3 separate regions of the Homo sapiens genome follow, and all the other regions are linked to region 1. The links are contacts of gene promoters, found by promoter capture Hi-C in blood cells and fetal thymus (Javierre and others, 2016). All regions are on one chromosome and are shown on one strand. Each heading gives the region's core, a stretch centred on a gene start or on the middle of the fragment in contact. The rest is flanking DNA. Distances are from core to core; before and after follow the strand shown. Region 1 holds the start of SLC6A3 (solute carrier family 6 member 3). Region 2 overlaps TRIP13 (thyroid hormone receptor interactor 13). Region 3 has its middle 37 kb from the start of TRIP13.

Region 1 (3,706 bases), core at 776-3,275:
GGGAAGTGCCAGCCCTCACCACAGGGCTGGGGCACTGGCCCATGGAGGCCTCAAGACAGACACTCTGGTTTGCTCCTCCTTCCCCTGCACCCCTCCCCACTCCTATCAAAGTGCAAGGCTGTGTGAGCTCTAGCGTGGCTTTCTACTAACAATGCATGGATATCACTTCCACCTTCCCCCACACTTCCAGAGAGCAATTTTACAATCTTCTAAGAGCATTCAATAATGTCTTCATGACTGTTCATCTGTATTCTTTTTTCTTTTTTTTTTCTTTTTTAACATGAGGTCTCGCTCTGTCACCCAGGATGGAATACAGTTGTGATTACAACTCACTGCCTCAACCTCCTAGGTTCAAGTGATCCTTGCACCTCAGCCTCCTGAGCAGCTGAGACTACAGGTGTGCACCACAGCACCGGCTAAGTTATTTTTGTGTGTGTTTTTTTGTTGTTGTTGTTGTTTTTTTGTAGAGACAGGGTCTGACTATTGTTGCCAAGGCTGGTTTTGAACTCCTGGTCTCAAGCGATCCTCCTGCCTCAGCCTCCCAAAGTGCTGAGATGACAGGCATGAGCCACCAAGCCTGGGCTTGTATTGTTTATACTCAGTAATAAAGAGCAAAATTTATATAAGCAAAATCAGCCACTGTAAAGAGAGTTTAGACATAACCATCACAACTGCTTCCTCAAAAAGTGTCTGTACAAGCCACATCCACCTAGGGCAGGTGGCACCACCCCGCGTGAGAGAGCTGGGCGGAGGATGGACAGGGCTTCATCGCGGGAACTAGCTCCTGGGCCAGCAGGGTAACCCGGGAAATCCTGTCCAAACGGCTACATAAACCCCCCTGCAACGCTGAGCAGGAGAGCAGGAGCGTCTACACCGCCCCAGCCAGGGCGACTTCTGTCATTTGGATCCAGCAGCAGCGTGTTTCAGTCGAGCGCACGCACACACAGACACACAGACACACACAGACTCACAAACACACATACACACTCACACACACACAGGCGAGCACATACACTTACACACATACACACTCACACTCACACAGGTGCGCACACACACACAACGACTGAAGCAGGTCGCAGGTGGAGGCTCTAACAGGCAACTTTCCCTGCATCCAAGTTTGCACAAAACCTCACCCATGAGCTATCACGAGCTATGCCACGCACCCGGTGACAACCTCAACCGGCACGACCCCTCCGGTGGGTAAAACACCCGACGAAGGGGTTCCGCGGCGCGAGCAGGAGGCCGCGTTGGGAGAGGGCGTCGGGTGCGGAGCTCGCGAGTCTCCGGCAAGCCGCCGCCGCCCTGGGGCCACCTGACCCCGCTCCTGAACGCGGGGCCTCAGAGGCGAGTTTTGGGTCTACACAGCAAAATGTGGCCCGTTAGAAAGCGTCCTTCCTCACCGCGCCCAGAACAAGAAGCGGCGCTGCCTGGCGAGTCCTCGCCCGGCCTCCCCGCCCTGCCCAGAGCACCAGCGCGCAGCCCGCGCCCGCCACCACCCCCAACACAGACAAAGCCCCCGCGAGATGGAGCGGCGGTGTACAAAACCCACTCCGATCGGATCTGGGATGCGCCGCACCCCTAGTAGGGTTAAGTTCCACGAGAAGAAACCAGGACCCCCGAGTCACAGCCATAGACACCCACGCGTCCCCTAAGCCGGTGACTGCACCAGGTGCCCACCCGGTTCTGAGCCTGGAGCGGGGCCAGGGGCAGCCCTGCACCCTCCTCGCGCCTCGGACGGCCTCAGGGTCCCATGTGGCGCTATCGGGGGGCGCTCGGCACCCGCGACTGTTGGCGACTTTGGAGACGGCGCGGTCTGCGGGACGCGGGGACCCCAGACTGTGCCCGGTCCCCGGCCCCCGCCCCTGCGCCCCACTTCGGGGTCTGCGGAAGGAGCGGGGCGCCCCGATGCCGCGAGCGACGCTGGCCTCACCTGGCCGCCCGGGCCTGGGCTTTGCACGCGAGTCCTGGCGCCGAGAGCGTTCCGCGAAGCCTCCCCTCCCGCTCCGCAGCGCTGGGCGGTCTCAGCCTCGGCCTCGGGCTCTTATCCAGTAGACAGGGTCCGCCCCGCCCCGCCCTCCCGCCGACGGGGTCGCCCTCGCGTCCTGGCTCCTCCTCCTCACCTCCCCGGGCCGCGCCCCCGCCCCCGCCTCCCGGACGCAGATGGCTGGGAGCAAGCGGCGGCCACGGCTCCACTGTCCTGCGCGTCCCGGAGCCTCGGACACGGGGTGCGGGGGCCTGGGGGTCCGAGACGTCGCGGATCTAGACGGGCGCCTTCCACGCGGGAACTGTCTGGGCCGCCCTGCGCCCTCGCCCGCACCCCTGGGGGCTGCCCCGGGCACCCGCTATCTTCGGACGCCCAGGGCTGGCGGCTCCCAGCTGGACGGGGAGGGAGCCGAGCGGCTGCGCGCGGGGAACTGCTGGGACCCCGTCGGGCCGACCCTTCCCTCCCTCCCCATCAGGGGCCCCTACGGTGGCCCCGCGCTCTGGGGACCACGTCCCTCCCACCCCGCCGCTCCACGCTCTGACCAGCGGGCTCGGGACCCCGCCGAGGACTCTGCACGCTTCCCGGCGTGCGGGCTGCGGAGACGCGGGTCCTTCCGTGGCCTTGGGGTCTCCGCGACCTCGAGGCGACCGAGGTCCCCTAGGCCTAGTCCCCGCCTTGCCGGCATCTAGTGCGCCTGCATCGGAACCGAGGGGCCCGCCTCGCACTCGCCTAAGAAAACCATTTCCCGGGACGGGCCTGGAAAGCCCTGGCGGTTGGTATCCGGCTCCAGGGCCGAATGGACTCCGAGGCTTTCCTTCCGAGATGCCCGGGCGGGATTTCTTCCATTCAGCGCGCGGAGGAATGGAGCCCCCAGGCCGCCAAGGCCCAGGATGTCCAGGTCCTTAGAAGGCACCGAGGTGAGTGGCCGCGCCCAGCTCTGTGCGTCGCCCCTAGGGTCGCCCGAACCCCGGCGTTCCTCCCCGTGTACCCTCGATGCTCCCGTGAGCACCCTGCCCTGGGCGTCCAGGCGAGCCCTGGGGCTCTCCAGCCATTCCAGCCTGCAGCCCGCGCTCAGCAGTGAGGGAGGCAGGGACCCTTGGTGCCTGACTCCGCAGTACCCGCCCGCAGCGCGGTGCCCCACCCCCTGCGCCCGCCCCGCACTCCCCGCACACCACCACTCCCCTCCCCGCCCCCCGCTCCCCCGCTCCCCGGCTCCGGGGCTGGCACCCAGGCAGAAGGCACTCAGGGCTGTGACTTCACGCTGAGTTGGAATCAAGTGGGAGCCTAGTGACCCCCTGGGGCTGCCATGACAAAAAACTCCACAGCCTGGGGGCTCACACAGAAGCCTTCAGTTCTAACGGTTCCGGTGTCCCGAGGCCAAGGCCTGGCCGACTCTGTGTCTGGTGAGGGCCGCTTCGGGGTTGCAGACAGTTCTCTCCCTGTATCTCCCCACGCTAGGGGCTGGGGAGAGCTCTCCGGGGTCTGTTTTATGAGGGCACTGGTCCCATTCCTCAGGGTGGAGCCCTCCTGGCCTGACCACCTGAAGGCCTCCTGACACCACCTCCCATCAGGGGTGGGACTTCATCGCCAGGGAGGTGAGGGGACTTCAGGAGAGGGGGATGTGCCACCTCGAAGCTGTAGTGTGTCAGTGGCTGCCACAGAAGGGATCTCTCTACCCCTATTATCTCCATGGCACAGGTTTCAATAAAAAGGAGTGAG
Region 2 (3,706 bases), core at 968-3,467, 540 kb before region 1:
AGCAGGCCAAGCCCAGGGCTTCATTCAGTCAGTGTGTGGGGAAACAGGTGGATTTGGCATCTGGACTTGTGCTGAAGCATATGGATAAAAGACAATTGTAAGTGGCTATGATCATAAATTTTATAATGTGTTGTTCACCACCAAAAAATGATAGTTTAATGAAAACATATTGTGGGGATTATGTTATACGTCAATGGAAAATAAATGACAACAATACCTTAAAGAAGGATGGGAAGTTAAAGTTTTTTTAAAAGACAATTGTGCGTGATAATGAGACGTAAAGTGTAATTCTTTGACTCCATCCAGTTGTCTGCCAGAAGTTACATGTGACTGGCATTTATTTTGCATCTTTGATTTTAATAAAAATCAAAATTTGAAGAAAAATTTGCAGAATTTATACTTTCCTGTAATCAGAATCATAGTCTTGCCTGGAGCAGCACAATGGGAAGCTCAGGCTTAGGCTCAGGGGAGACTGACTGGGGGTGGCTGTAATTGCTTGCCTTCCTGAAATCAGGTCTTTGTTTAATTCTGTCACAGCTGAATTCCATGGGCTTTGGGACAGCTTGGTATACGATGTGGAAGTCAAATCCCATGTAAGTTGCTGTGCCTTTTCCCAGAATGCCCTGTTATTTGAAGAGGAACCATTACTGTTTTGCTCTCCAACACCCCTGAGCAACTTGATGCAGATGGGTTTTTGGGAGCCCCTGTCTGCTGGCAGCCCTTGTCCTGGACATCTATCCTCTAGTATTGCTCCAGAGTAGAGCTGGTCTCTGAGGAGCTCCCTGAGGGAGAAGAGGGAAAGGGAGAACGTGAAGGCAACTTAGAGAATTAAACCCTCTGGAGATGGGAGGAGGGAAGGTGAGCAAGCCTGGTCCGCACAAAGGAAAGGCCGGTGTGTCTTAACCCCTGCACCCTCTTCAACGGGAAGGGTCTTTCCCATGCCAGCAGCTGGCTAGAAGACTATCACTCAGCTGTCCTCTGCATTGATAGTCTGAGACTATCACTCAGACTGCTCCTCTGCATTGTGGCTGTTGTTATTTTGCGAATAATAACTGCTGTATCATTCTAGGGAAGGAGCTTACTCATTACTTGATAAACAAACCCCTTAGTGGTTTTGTTTAATGTTGGCACTTTAAATAAAAGTGATCATTTTGTTGCTCTTCTTATATTTATAATAGTAATAGCCAGTGTTTTTCCTTTTCCCTTTTGGAAGCACCTTCTCTTCTGAAATGAAAGCGTTTGGAGGTGATGATCTCTTAGGAGGCGGCCTCGCTCCCTGTGCTCCCTCTTCTCATGTAGGATTAAGCCCTGGGGGAGGGCACATTTCTTGGGGACCTTTGCCTTGTTGGTATCTTTGTCAAGCTCTTTTCTTTTTCTCTATCAGCTCCTCGATTATGTGATGACAACTTTACTGTTTTCAGACAAGAACGTCAACAGCAACCTCATCACCTGGAACCGGGTGGTGCTGCTCCACGGTAAATTATGCAGGCTTTTATTTGACCAGATAAGTGGCATGAAATTTAGCCTTTACTTGTACCTTCGTCCTTCTGCAAGGAGTTACGGCTCTTTGTTTTCTGAAGGAGCCACAGCTGTCCTAGAATGTCCCCTCTCTGTGAAGCAGATCCAGCTCATGACACTTGGGACATTTTTTGTTTGTTTGTTTGTTTTTGTTTTTGAGACAGAGTCTCGCTGTCGACCAGGCTGGAGTGCAGTGGCCCGATCTCGGCTCACTGCAACCTCCACTTCCTGGGTTCCTCCCAGGTTCCAGCAACTCTCCTACCTCAGCCTCCCGAGTAGCTGGGATTACAGGCATGCGCCACCACACCCAGCTAAGTTTTGTATTTTTAGTAGAGACGGGGTTTCACCACGTTGACCAGGCTGGTCTCAAACTCCTGACCTCAGGTGATCCGCCCGCCTCAGCCTCCCAAAGTGCTGGGATTACAGGCTTGAGCCACCGCGCGCGGCCCCTGGGGCATTGATTACTCGGCACTTAATCAAGTCTTCCTGTGGGGGGCCACATTCCAAGACATCCTCAGATGCCCCAAACGTGGATAATACTAAACCTTATGTAGACTATTTTTTCCTACAGACATTCCTATGATAAAGCTTAACTTATAAATTAGGCTTGTAGTACTCAGAGCTTTACTTTGTGAGGAGTAAACTGAAAAAGCCATATTTTAAAGAAATTCTGTCTGGTTCTTCTCAGGAGAAAATACTGATGGTTTGTTGTTTGGTTTTGTTTTGTTTTGTTGTCAATATCACCGGGTAGAATGGGGACACGGGAATTGAGTGGACTCGAGAGTATGAAACTGTAGCCAAGTGTTAAATAGAAGCTTGAAGGGTACTTGGCTTCTTTAAGTCAGTTAAGATTGCGTGACAAAGTGACCTTAAAACACAATGTTCTTTTAAAGAGCAGACAGGCCCCGCATACTGCCCTCATAGCACAGTCAGAGTAAGCAGCAGGTGTTTTAATTAGTGAAATAAGTTGTTTCTGTTTGGAACCAGTTACGTATTTCCTCTTTAATTCTTGAAAATACCTGCAGAAAATTAGAGTTGTATGTCTCCATTTTCTGTTAGATGCTTTCCTTTTTCCATATTGGTCACCTCGCAGCTTCTGTGAGGCATCTTTTGTAGGGTCCAGCCCCACAGGGTTGGTGAGTTTTCTCCCCATGTGCAAAGACGAGAGAGTGTAGAAATAAAGACACAAGACAAAGAGATAAAAGACAGCTGGGCCTGGGGGACCACTACCACCAAGACGCGGAGACCGGTAGTGGCCCCGAATGCCAGGCTGCGCTGATATATATTGGATACAAGACAAAGGGGCAGGGTAAGGAGTGTGAGCCATCTCCACTGATAGGTAAGGTCACGTGGGTCACGTGTCCACTGGACAGGGGACCCTTCCCTGCCTGGCAGCTGAGGCAGAGAGAGAGAAGAGAAACAGAGAGACGGCTTACACCATTATTTCTGCATATCAGAGACTTTTAGTACTTTCACTAATTTGCTACTGCTAGCTAAAAGGCAGAGCCAGGTGTACAGGATGGAACATGAAGGCGGACTAGGAGCATGACCACTGAAGCACAGCATCACAGGGAGACAGGCCTCTGGATGACTGCGGGCGGGTCTGACTAATGTCAGGCCCTCCACAAGAGGTGGAGGGGTAGAGTCTTCTCTAAACTCCCCGGGGGAAAGGGAGACTCCCTTTCCCGGTCTGCTAAGTAGCAGGTGTTTTTCCTTGACACTGACGCTACCATTAGACCACGGTCAGCTTGGCAGCGGGCTTCTTCCCAGACGCTGGCATTACTGCTAGACCAAGGAGCCCTCTGGTGGCCCTGTCCAGGCATAACAGAAGGCTCGCACTCTTGTCTTCTAGTCACTTCTCACTATGTCCCCTCAGCTCCTATCTCTGTATGGCCTGGTTTTTCCTAGGTTATGATTGTAGAGCAAGGATTATTATAATATTGGAATAAAGAGTAATTGCTACAAATTAATGATTAATATTCATATATAATCATATCTAAGATCTATATCTAGTATAATTATTCTTATTTTATTTATTTTATTATACTGGAACAGCTCGTGCCCTCGGTCTCTTGCCTCGGCACCTGGGTGGCTTGCCGCCCACATCATGCTAGGGGACGCTTGGCAGGCAGGCGTGCAAGAAGAGTGCTGGCCTCTGCCTCTTCTAGTATGGGGTATGAGCCCACTG
Region 3 (3,706 bases), core at 305-2,804, 520 kb before region 1:
AGGCAGGAGAATCACTTGAACCCAGGAGGCAGAGGTTGCAGTGAGCCAAGATCGTGCTACTGTACTCCAGCCTGGGCAACAAGAGCAAAACTCCATCTCTAAATAAATAAATAAATAAACCAGTCTCAGGCAGTTCTTTATAGCAATGGGAGAATGGCTAATACAGAAAATTGGTACCTAGGAGTGGGCATTGCTGTAGTGATACCTGAAAATATGGAAGTGACTTTGGAACTGGGTAACAGGTAAAGGTTGGAAGAGTGTGGAGGGCTCAGATGAAGACAGGAAGATAAGGGAAAGTTTGGAATTTCTTAGGGATTTGTTAAATTGTTGTGACCCAAATGCTGAATAATGATATGGACAATGAAGTCCAGGCTGAGGTGATCGCAGATGGAGATGAGGAACTTATTGGAAACTAGAGAAAAAGTCACTTTTGTTATGCGTTAGCAAAGAATTTGGTGACATTTTGCCCCTGCCCTAGAGATCTATGGAACTTTGAACTTGAGAGAGATGATTTAGGGTATCTGGAAGAAGAAATTTTTAAGCAATAAAGCTTTCAAGAGGTGATCTGGCTGTTTCTAAAAGTGTACACTCATATGTGTGAAGAAAGAGATTATCTGAAACTGGAACTTGTATTTAAAAGGGAAGCAGAGCATAAAAGTTTGGGAAATTTGCAGCCCAGCCTTGTTGTAGAAAAAGAAAAACCCATTTTCTAAGGAGAAATTCAAGCCTGCTGCAGAAATTTGTATAGCATAAGTAAAGAGGAGCCAAATGTTAATAACCAAGACAATGGGAAAATGTCTTCAGGGCATGTCAGAGATCTTCACAGCAGCCCTACCCATCACAGGCTCAGAGACCTAGGAGGGAAAAATGGTTTCATGGGCCAGGCCCAGAGCCCAGCTAGCTCTGTACAGTCTCAGGACATGGTGCCCTGTGTCCCAGCTGCTCCAGCTCCAGCTGTGGCTAAAAGGGGCCAAGGTACAACTTGGGCCATGGCTTCAGAGGGTGCAAGGCCCAAGCATTGGTGACTTCCACATGGTGTGGGGCCTGCAGGTGCACAGAAGTCAAGAGTTGAGATTTGGGAACTTCTGCCTAGATTTCAGAAGATACATGGAAATGCCTGGATGTTCAGGCAGAAGTCTGGTATGGGGCAGAGCCCTCATGCAGAACCTCTACTAGGGCAGTGCAGAGGAGAAATGTGGGGTTGGAGCCCCCACACAGAGTCTTCACTGCAGCACTGCCTAGTGGAGCTGTCAGAGGAGGGCCACTGTCTTGCAGACCTCAGAATGGTAGATCCACTGACAGCTTGCACCATGCACCTGGAATAGCTGCAGGCACTCAACAACAGCCTGTGAAGACAACCATGGGAGCTGTACCCTGCAGAGCCACAGGGGCAGAACTGCCCAATGCCATGGGTGCCCACCCTTTGCATCACCATGATCTGGATGTCAGACATGGAGTCAAAGGAGATCATTTCAGAGCTTTAATATATTAATGGCTGCCCTGCTAGGTTTCAGACTTGCATTGGGCCTGTAGCCCCTCACTTTCGACCGATTTAACCCACTTGGAATGAGAGCATTTACTCAGTGCCTGTGCCTCCATTGTATCTTGGAAGTAACTAATTTGTTTTTTATTTTACAGGCTCAGGGGAAGGAGGGATTTGCCTTGTCTCAGATGAGACTTTGGACTTGGGCTTTTAAGTTAGTGCTGACTTAAGACTTTGGGGGACAGTTGGGAAGGGATGATTTATTTTACAATATGAGAAGGACATGAGATTTGGGAGAGGCCAGGGGTGAAATGATATGGTTTGGATTTGTGTCCCCACACAAACCTCATGTTGAATTGTAATCCCCAAAGCTGGAGGTGGAGCATGGTGGGAGGTGATTGGATCGTGGGAGCTGATTTCTTCCTTGGCTGATGTTCTCATAGAGGTCTCATGAGATCTGTTAAAAAGCATATGGCACCTACCCTCTCTTTCTCCTCCTCCTGCTCTGGTCAAGTGAAGATGTGCCTGCTTCCCCTTAGACTTCCACAATGATTGTAAGATTTCTCAGGTATTTAGAGCACTGCAAGAACAGACATACACAGGTATACTCCAAATACTTCCACCGTGAGCACCATCACCTCCAAATGTGTTCACCTGTGAGCACCTTCACCTCCCAGTACATTCACCTGTGAGTACATAACCTACTGGTACATTCACCTGTGAGCACCTTCACCTCCCAGTACATTCGCCTGTGAGCACATAACCTACTCGTACATTCACTGTGAGTACCTTCACCTCCCAGTACATTCACCTGTGAGTACCTTCATCTCCCAGTACATTCACCTGTGAGCACCTTCACCTTCCAGTACATTCACCTGTGACAGATTCCCCTCCCAGTACATTCATTCACCTGTGAGCACATTTAATCCCAGTACATTCACCTGTGAACACATTCACCTCCCCGTACATTCACCTGTGAGCACATTAACCTGTGAATATGATCACCTGTGTACAGACTCTCAGGCTGCACCGGAGAATTTAACTGACGCAGAAAGATCAACAGGAGGAAAGCACGGAAGCTTATTTAAAGGAAGCTCTATATGGTGGGAGAGCCTCCCATGGAAGGAATGCCCTAAAGCCACAGAGTTGGACACTCACACCCATGTGAGCAAACAGGACTTGCAAGAAGTGGATGGGTGGATCTCTAGTGGCTCACCGGCCCTAAATCCTCATAGAGCCCAGTGACCGTTTGCTGACTAGAGGTCACACGGGTACCCGGAGTTCCTTGAAATCCCATACCTCTGTTAAACTTTGGGACTTCCAGAGCTCCCCTGAACCAACCCATCAGAACACAGGAAGTTTGAATTTTTCATTTGCATAAGCGAACCTATGTGAGAACTTTCAGTATAAAAGCTGGACCCTCTCTTTGTTCTCTGGAAAGCATCCTGGTTTTACGCTGAAGGCAGCATCTCCCACTTCACAAACTGTTCATAGGAATAGTCTTTCCTCTACATTCCTTTTCAAAGAACTTTTGTGCACCCTGAATTGGAGGTGGAGTAGTAAGCTGTGAAAAATACATTGTGTGCGGAGGCTGCCAAGAAGAGTGATTTTAAGGAGGCTATGCTGAAATCTCTCTGGGTCTGGGCCTCCCACTGTTGATAAGAAAGATGCTTTCCCAAACGTATGGGGAGGGCATCTTTCACATGAGAATTTCGTCTCCTGCTTTTAAGACATGGAATGGCGATCAGCTTAAAGCCAGAGCAATGCCTTTGGGGTGGTGGGCTCTTAGCTCCTTCAGGATCACGCCACAGAAGGAAATCGGTGAGCACCTGCTCCCGCCCTCAGAAAAAGCTGCAGTTTCTTAGGGAGTGACAGCTGTTCATGCCAGCTTTGGGGGCACTTCCCATCTGGAGCAAAGGAGGTCAACTTCGAACAGCACGAAGCCAGCTGCTTCCCAAGGTAAGAAATGTCAACAAAATTCAAGTGACCAAACTCTCCGTTTTGAAGATGGGGACTCTCAGTTTGGGGACAGGCCACACCGCTTCAAGAGAGCATGGGGTTCTGCACCCGCACCTCTGAGCCCTCCTTTCAAAGGACGCATTTGGTTCTTGCCTCGTTGGAAAGGCAGGTGGAGCTTCATTTAAGGAATAATGACCCTGCCATTACTGGCCATTTTGGGCTTGATTCATTTTCCTTTCCATAAACTCAGCCAAAGAGAGTCAA

The links. The method cuts DNA at HindIII sites, captures the fragments that hold promoters and counts their contacts. A CHiCAGO score of 5 or more calls a contact.
Region 2: a contact is called between a fragment that was not itself captured here and the fragment with the promoter of SLC6A3 in region 1, in 5 of 17 cell types (M1 macrophages, non-activated CD4 T cells, total CD8 T cells and 2 more). The highest score is 6.2, in M1 macrophages.
Region 3: a fragment that was not itself captured here is called in contact with the fragment with the promoter of SLC6A3 in region 1 in 2 of 17 cell types (M1 macrophages and naive CD8 T cells); the score reaches 6.1 in M1 macrophages.

Annotation. Positions count from the first base shown.
Region 1 is chr5:1,443,415-1,447,120 of GRCh38, forward strand. SLC6A3 (solute carrier family 6 member 3) reads right to left here and starts at 2,026. Exons shown (of 15, transcript NM_001044.5): 1 at 1,934-2,026. RefSeq lists an enhancer at 2,664-3,163. The HindIII fragment of the contact is 13,596 bases long and covers 1-3,706 here.
Region 2 is chr5:899,957-903,662 of GRCh38, forward strand. It overlaps TRIP13 (thyroid hormone receptor interactor 13), which reads left to right. Exons shown (of 13, transcript NM_004237.4): 4 at 538-593; 5 at 1,385-1,475. Among named protein-coding and RNA genes, the nearest start is that of TRIP13, 8.9 kb to the left of the region's middle. RefSeq lists a silencer at 3,138-3,432. The HindIII fragment of the contact is 227 bases long and covers 2,105-2,331 here.
Region 3 is chr5:928,490-932,195 of GRCh38, forward strand. No RefSeq gene overlaps it. Among named protein-coding and RNA genes, the nearest start is that of TRIP13, 37 kb to the left of the region's middle. RefSeq lists a silencer at 996-1,172. The HindIII fragment of the contact is 2,012 bases long and covers 549-2,560 here.